Regions from separate parts of the Homo sapiens genome. Here region 2 is linked to region 1. The links are contacts of gene promoters, found by promoter capture Hi-C in blood cells and fetal thymus (Javierre and others, 2016). All regions are on one chromosome and are shown on one strand. The core of a region is centred on a gene start or on the middle of the fragment in contact, and the rest is flanking DNA. Distances in the headings are between cores, read along the strand shown. Region 1 holds the start of CABLES2 (Cdk5 and Abl enzyme substrate 2). Region 2 has its middle 6.4 kb from the start of BHLHE23.

Evidence for each region. Contacts are between HindIII fragments. The CHiCAGO score rates a contact against its expected background, and 5 or more counts as called.
Region 2: a contact is called between a fragment that was not itself captured here and the fragment with the promoter of CABLES2 in region 1, in 1 of 17 cell types (total B cells). The highest score is 5.0, in total B cells.

The regions. Positions count from the first base shown.
Region 1 is chr20:62,405,227-62,409,301 of GRCh38, forward strand. CABLES2 (Cdk5 and Abl enzyme substrate 2) reads right to left here and starts at 2,059. Exons shown (of 10, transcript NM_031215.3): 1 at 1,689-2,059. The coding sequence starts at 2,050. It overlaps LOC105372709 (a long non-coding RNA gene), which reads right to left and starts at 1,668. Exons shown (of 2, transcript XR_936967.3): 1 at 1-1,668. RefSeq lists a silencer at 1,976-2,225. The HindIII fragment of the contact is 20,791 bases long and covers 1-4,075 here.
Region 2 is chr20:63,011,359-63,015,433 of GRCh38, forward strand. No RefSeq gene overlaps it. Among named protein-coding and RNA genes, the nearest start is that of BHLHE23, 6.4 kb to the left of the region's middle. RefSeq lists an enhancer at 1,580-1,729. The HindIII fragment of the contact is 240 bases long and covers 1,567-1,806 here.

The sequences.
Region 1 (4,075 bases), core at 809-3,308:
CCACACCTGCGGAGCTCGGCCCGTTGGGGTGAGCCCGCTTCCCCTGGAGTCCACACCTTAGGGCCTTGCCGCTCTGCCCTGGAGAGTCACCACCTTGTTCCATCTCTCCCGCCTTCCTGAAGGAGCTGGCCATGCCAAATGCATGGGGCCTGGCTGCCACATTTGGGCAAATCCATCCCTCTGCCCCAATCATCCCTCTGACCCTCCCTGGAGCAGCGGCCAGGCATGTCCGTGGGGGGACATCTTGTGGACAGGCCTGGGTCTGCAGGCACCCTCAGCCTGGCTACGGCCAGGAACACTTCCAAGGATGGAGTGCACCGCGACCTGCGTGTGACGCAACCTGCATGTGACGTCATAGTCTTTGAGGACAGAGTGCTGTGTTCTGGGCCCAAACTTCCCCAACCAAAGACCTTAGAGGAACCCAATGCCTCCACCTGCCCGAAGGCCAGGGGCGTGGGGCAACTCTGATGACCTCCAGGTAAGCAAGGAGCACGTGCCAGCCTTGACCCAAGAGCTCTGTGTCGGCCCCTTTGCTGCACACCTGCAGGGGCTGCCTCTGGGAACAGCCGCCCAGCAGGCACTTGGACCTGTGGACAGTGGCTCCCTTTGAGAAGGAACCGCAACAAGCAGCCAGTCCTGGGCCCAGAGCCCACAGTCACTCCTGGAGGTGAGGGCTGTGGGAGGCAGGGTCACCCAGGTCCTGTGGTCTCTGGGAGAAGGACACAGGGTGTCGGGCAGCCAGGGGCCATCTGGGCAGGGGGCACACGCTGGACAGGCAGGGCTCATGGTTGGGGTTGCCCTGGGATGGGCTGAGGTGGTTCCCAGAAATGGAATCAAGGCAGGGGGAGCAGTGGAGACCCAGGGTGTGACAGACCCAAAGATACCGAGCTGAGAGTGATGTGGGGAAGGGCGGGGCTCAGCAGGGAAGTGACAGGGAGAGGAGGGGTGCCAGAGACCAGTGGCTGTGGGATGGGAGATGTGGCTGTGCAGGGGCCTCTGGGAACAGGTGTCAGTGACAGTGCCAGGAGGACCCCGGCCCACATGCTGGGTCTGAGGAGGTGGGCATGGACGGTGTGGCCCGGTTCAAAGAATGCGAAGAGATGCACAGGGCTGTCCATGTGTCCCTGTGTCCCGGGCACTGGTACCAGTGGATGGGGGTGGGGGCATGTCCAGAACCCACAGGGCTGGGGGTCTCAGGGGTAATAAGGGCTGAACCCTAAAACCCATTTCAGAGCACTGACAACGTGGAGATCCAGACCCCGTATTCAGGGGCTGGGAGAATTCAGGGGACAATGAACCCTATGTGTGGGGGGTGACAGGGCCTGAGGAAACCCTCAGCCAGCCCAGGAACCCCCAGTTCTGTATCCAGGACTGACAAGGTCCCAGGTGAACCCAACCCCTGTGTCCTGGGCTGATGAGGGCCCAGACTGACCCTGACCCCTGTGTCCTGGGTTGACAGGGGCTCAGGTCACCTGAACCTCTGTCCAGGGCTGACAAGGCCCCAGGTGAACCCAACCCCTTTGTCCTGGCCTCTGTCCAGGGCTGACAAGGCCCCAGGTCACCTGACCCCCTTGTCCTGGGCTGATGAGGCCCCAAGTAATCCTGACCCCTAGTCCTGGGCTGATCCGGCCCCCGTCCCCGTCCCTGTACCCCGCGTCCTGGGCTGACCTGGCCGGGCCCCCACTCACCTCTGGCGCTGCCCATCCAGGCCGAGGCCGGTGGGCACCTGCGTGGGGCTGAGCAGGCCCTGGGGCGCGGGGGTCCTGGCGGGCAGCCCGGTGGGGGGCTCCGGCGGCGGCGGCGCTGGCGGTTCGCGGGCCTCGGCGGGCGGCGGCGGGGGCTTCTCTCCGCCCGGGCCCAGGCTCGGGGGCCGCCCGTCCAGGGAGATGTTGTTGAGGAAGAAAAGCGCGGCCTGGCGGCGCCGCGAGTCCCCGCGCCTCCGCAGCGCCTGCGGCGGGGCCCGAGCGGCCGAGGTCGGCGCGGCGGGTGGCGGGGGCCCGGCGGGGCCGGGGGCCGGGCCCGGGGCTCCACCGGCCGCGGCCGCGGCCATCCTCAGACTGCGCCCGCCGCCGCGAAGCGCCCCACCCCCTGCCCGCGCGCCCGCGCGCCCGCCGCCCATTGGCCGCGGCGCGCCCACATGCAAATGTATCGCCGTCGCGCTCTCCCATTGGCCAGCGAGGTGCCGCGCTCAGGGCGCTCCCCTGGGTCCTAGAGGCGGTCGGACGCAGCAGCAGGGAGTCGGGAGCTGCGCGCCTCCCCGCCGGTTCGAGTCCCCGTCTTGGGACCTGCGGCCGCGGGGCTCTCGCTTTCTGTTCCCTTTGCTGTATGGCGGCCTTCGCGGATGGCCTCCATCGAGCGCACATTTTAAGGCTCCGGACCCAGGGCGGCGTGGGTGAGGCCCCAGCACACTTCCCTGTCCGGAGGTGTGTCTGGGCGGCGCTTCAGCGGGCGCAGGGCGGCCCCTGGAGGAGCCCCACCGCTTCCCGGAAGGGCCCGCGTGCCATCTGGCCTCCTTCATTGACAGAAGGGAACGAGGGTCTGAGTGGAGAAGGCACCTGCTTGGGATCAAAGCCCCAGGCAGAGTCCTGCACTTCCTGCAGTAGCAAAGTGACCTTGAGCCTGCCTTGTGCCCAGGCCTGTTTCCTCTCTGTGCCTGGGTGCCCCTGACTTCAGAACCTGTGAGCCCGTGGCACCGGGATGGTCAGGGCCTGCCTCTGGAGCCCGGGAGCCTGTCTGCAGTCTGGAGGGGAACCCGCTGTATCTTTGTGGAGGGACTCAGGACCTTGCACCCACCTCTGTGTCACCTGCCTGCTCTGTCCAGCTTTCTTTCATGGGTTTACGTATCTTTAAAGAGGGGACAATGATTTCAGCCTCAGGGTACTGTCAGGATGAAACTGGCTCAGTGAGGGGGTCGGGCTGTGGCCGGAGGCCAGGCACATGCAGTGGTCAGTCCGCGAATGCGCTGCAGTACCTCGCACCTGCCCGCATGCGCCCAGCCTCTCCTGTGCTGGGTGCTGGGGACCCGGTGGGACCGACAGGCACAGCGCTGGCCCTAGGAGCACCTGGTGTGTGGGGAGGCAGCATGATGGCCAACAAGGCAGTGGGCGAGTGGGCAAGACAGGGTCTTCATCACCACCCCTAGCATGGGCCCCTGCCCTTCAGGCCCCTACCCACCTCCCGCCTGCCTGCTCCCTCCTGTGGGCCTTCACGGGCCACCATTGGGGCTCACGCAGCATGCAGCACCTCCATTTCCTTTCCCTCCGCCCTTCCAAGTTGGCCTCCAAGGCCTCTGCCAGGCCTAGGGGAAGGTGGGCAGCTGTCCTGTCTAGGAGAACGCGGGGCTGGGTGGCATAGCAGAGGGGTGGCTGCGGATTCTGGATCCACAGAATGGGGTGCTGACTTGTGTGCCTGGGGGCTCCCGTGAGCGGGGAGTGAGTGTGTCCAGCGCTGTAGGGTGCTGAGGCTGGGGCAGGCACACAGTGGGCCCTCCATCCCTGCTGGCTATCACCAGGAGGAGGGGCCTGACAGGGGAGGGTGGGCCATACACCAGCAGCTTGCAGAGAATCTGGTGTCAGATGAGAACAGAAAGGGGCGAGTGAGGGTGGAGGGCAGGACGCAGGAGGCAGGAGGCAGCTGTCCGTGCTGGCTGCAGCGCCGGGTCCTGGGGATCGGCTGTGCAGTAGGGGGGCCCCTAGCCAGTTCTTCTTTGCTGGCGCTAAGCTAGACTTTGAGGGACAAGGAGGAATGCTGAGGAAGGAACGGGGTCTCTTCCTGGGTCTGGTGAACCCCCTTGCTAGGCTCCCGCTGCCAGTCTTCTCCCCTCCCCAGGGTGTCGATGGGTGGCCAAAAGCCAACCTGGCCTGCGGGCAGTGTGTAGGGAACACACGGCTTTTGTTTCGTGTGATTCTGGAGAAATTAAAGCAACCTTTAACACACCTGGACTTCCCTCTTGGGAGTTCAGTCCCTCTGGCCTCTCAGGACAACAGGCAGACATGTCACAGGCTGCAGGTGGGAGGCAGTGCCCCCTGAGTCAGGCCCGCACCCCAGTCTGGCCCAGGCCTCACCCAGCCCAGTC
Region 2 (4,075 bases), core at 437-2,936, 610 kb after region 1:
ATCTGCATCTCAGCACTTTTGAAATAATGTATAGAAGGCCTTTCTTAACTACAGACCTCCTAATAGACATAGATACTTTCAAGCTACAGAATTATGTGATCAACTTAGGACAAGTGCAAAACGCACTCCTTGACTATGGAAATCAGAGACTCCCTTCCCCCACTGAGGAAGACAATCTGGTTCCAACCCAGCTGGGAGACTGGGTCCTATTGCAAACTTGGAAGGAAGGATCCTCAGCAGATCAACTTTCCCCCCAAGTGGAGGGGACTCTATCAAGTTCTCCTTAGTACCCCAACTACAGTTAAACTTCTGGGAATAAACAGCTGGGTCCACTTATCTCAAATTAAACCTGTCTCTTATAAAGCCCCACAGGCCAACGGAACACAAGAGACTGATCCCGTTTATTCCCGTGAGCCAGTCAGTGACCTCTGATTCCTGTTCCTAAGAAATGAGAGGGATGGGGGGCATAAATACCTGGATTGGCATTCTACTTTTAGGCACAAGTTGGAATCATGCAGAGAGTGATTTATTTACTGAGTAGGCACAGACTTTAGCCTGTCTACATAATCACATAAACGGTTGGGTATGTGGAGAATTGCCACTTTCCTCCACCTCTGGGTTGCCCTGGCATAGTCAACTGGCCAGCCTAAGTCTGTGGGGATTTTACGTTCCAGACCATTACCCAGGCTATGAGAGCTTTAGAGCTCACGTCTCTGCCATTGATGAGCTGTCAGTCAGTCCTCTATTGGCTTGGTTCCAACAGCTGCCCAGTTCTTGGAAAGCCTTTCTGTTTAGCTAGTTTACTTGGAATGATTTTATTTATTTTGCTTTGCTATTGTAGAATATATTGCGGTTGTACTCTTTGTGTAGGAATGCATGACAAGCTCACTCAACACTTTCTTCAGTTGGACATTTTTTTGTTTTTTTTTTGTTTTTTTTTGAGACGGAGTCTTTCTCTGTAGCCCAGGCTGGAGTGCAGTGGCATGATCTTGGCTCACTGCAACCTCCACCTTCTGGGTTCAAGTGATTCTCCTGCCTCAGCCTCTTGAGTAGCTGGGATTACAGGCGCACACCACCATGCCTAGCTAATTTTGTATTTTTAGTAGAGACGGGGTTTCTCCATGTTGGTCAGGCTGGTCTTGAACTCCTGACCTCAGATGATCCACCCGCCTCAGCCTTCCAAAGTGCTGGGATTACAGGTGTGAACCACCATGCCCATCCTGTTTTTCCTTCTTAAATGAGACAAGAGGGATAGAGAATGGGGCTGTGTGTTTCCCTTCCCAACATAAAAGACTGGAGGGAGCTGGAGTTGATACTTCCCTTCCTCCAGGTTGGTTAGACTCTGATTAAACTCTGGTACGTTAAAAATAGTTTCTCTTGAGGGCAGAGGAAGAACAGAATGCTCTGGCATATTTCGAAAGTGCTACTTCTCCCCTCCCCTTGTCCAAAGCACAAGGGGATTTTTCTCTGGTATTTACCTGGGGGATCTGGTAGAGTTTGTGCAGGTAAAACTCACAGAAGTGTGGCCTCCACCCTAAGACTGGGCCCTGGAGTTTTTAACTGTCAAGCTTGGCCACACAGCCTCCAGCAATCTGCCAGTGACAGTTTAGGTTTTCCCAACCTGGCAGTGGTTCCCAGGGAGGTGTCTGCTCTGCAGAATTGGGATTCTCTGCATCTGTCTGTCGTCTCTACAACTTTTTTGGGCAGTGGTTTGCCCTGTGACCTCATCATCTGTTGAATATAAGAAATATTATTGACTTTCAGTTTGCTCACGTTTTGTTCTTGTGAAAAGATTGATTGTTTCCAAGCTTCTCACACAGTGGACTAGAAATTGATTCATTTCATTTATCCTTTTTGGGTTTGTGGGGTTCTTGAATTTGTGACTTGATGATTTTGATTACTTTTAGAAATTTCCTGGCTATTAACTCTGGAGTATTGCTTCAACCTCATGTTCTCTCATCTCCTCTCTGGGATCCAGTTACAAATATATTGGTCCTTCTTCCTGAATCCTTTGTGTATCTTAACCTGTCACCTGTATTTTCCATTTGTATTATCCATACTTCATTCTGAATATTTTCTACTGACCTATTTTCCACTTCACTAATTCTCTCTTCAGCTGAATTTGCTATTAAAGCCACTAAGTTTATAATTTAAGTGATTTTATTTTTCAGTGCTAGAATTTTCATTTGGTTTTTCTAGGTTTTTTTTTTTTTTTTTGCTGAAATTCTAAATTCCACCTCTATTTCTGCAAATGCTGTAAGCACAGTTTTGTTCCAGTCTCTGTCTCGCGACTCCAGTGTCTGGACTGGTAGATCTTCTGCCTATGGTCTCTGCTGCTTTCATTCTTGCTGATTTGTTTTTTCAATTGTCTAGAATTTTTATTGTGGACTGAACATTGTATTTGTAAAATTATTTTGTAGAAATCATTTGAGGTCTATTTTATTTTCCTCCAGAGAGGGTTTATGTTTGCATCTGCGAGACATGGGGGCACTAGGGGTCCTGGATCATCTTACTCTAGTTTCAGGGATTGAAATCATTTCAAGATGATTACAGTTTAGGTTTTCCTACCCTGGCAGTGGTGCAAAAGGCCCTGAGTTGCTGCAAGAGCCGGTCTCCTTCTATCCACCCCTATGTCTAGGGTGCGGTTATTTGTTGTCCCAACTCAAAATGGTGGGGGTCGGGGGGATGTTCGCCAACTCCCCACTCTCAGGTGGGCTGAATCTCTCGCTGTCTGGCTCCTCAGTGGGCTGTGAGCTATCTGAAGCAGCAAATGCTTTGGGGGAAAAGTGAGCGTCCCGAAGGCTTTTTTCACTCTGGATCTTTGTCTTTCTGGGATTTTGTTTGTTTGCATTCCAAGCAAATATTTTTAACATTTTGCTCAGCTTTTGTAGTCACCATCAGAAAAGTGATGGGTCCAGATTAACTAGTCCCTAATAACCAGAAACTGGAAGTCTGATGGTTGTTTTCAGTCTTGAACAACATTGATTCTGCGGTGACCAGTTTAGAGTTCATGCAATAGACCTTCCTCCCCCTTGTAAAATCATCACTATTTCAGCTAATACTTAGAGTGACCTCCTGGTGACTCATCCTCAGCCCCCTTTGCCGGTTCTTCTTTTCCCCGACATTTTCATTCTGGAGGGCTTGGGATTCAGTCCTTTGGCCTTTTTCCTAGCTGTGTCTGCCCCCTCGGGGATCTCATCCAATACCCTTCCCACAGCCTACCCAGACCCCAGTGCTGAACTCCAGACTCACGGATTCAGCGGAGCGCAGAATGTCAGATGTGTGAGGGCCGCCTCCGATGCAGCGCGTTCCAGATGGAGCTGCGGCCTCCCCCAGACCCGCCCACCCCCACCCCCAGATTCTGTTGAGGGCAAATCATGCTTCCTCGCAGCTCACACCCTGTTGGTTCTCCCTCCCACGTTCATCTGGAATGCGGCCGCTCCCCACCTCTTCCCGCCTGCCCTCAGTCAGCACAGCAGCCTTCTAATGGCTTCTGCCCTCCCATCATCCCCAGACCCTCCCTTTCACACAGCAGCTGTGAGGTCCTCCTCAGGCAGGGTCAGGTCACGCCTCTCCCTCTCAGAGTCCTGCCTCAGCCCCTCCCCTGTCATCAACAAAGACTAGACTGTGAATGGCCCCATCTGCCTCCTGCCTCCCGAGCTCACAGCCTCTGAGGTCCCGGATGGGAAATCCCACCAGGCAGTCTGTGGACGCCGCACTGCAGGCGAGTGGGGTCTATCTTTTCAAAGCTGATGCCCACGCCCAGAGAGGGTGTCTTCCATGAGAGACGTGGCCTGGCAGCTGCTGCTGTGGGCCCTGGGCCCGGGGACACACCCGGCCCTCATTGAAGACAGGAGGCATCCCGCTGGGGGAGTCAGATGAGATGTCCAGCCCCACGTCACCTCCCTGTGCTCGGCCGTGCTCCGTGAATGGCCTGGTGGGTTTCTGTGTGTGGAGAGCTGGGTGGGCTTCTAGGGTCTTGACTACGGGGCTGGATGTAGAGTACTCTAGAGAGGCTGGGGATGAGATGAGGCAGCTGCAGGTGGCCCCTCCTCACCGCCTGAGGACGCGGGAC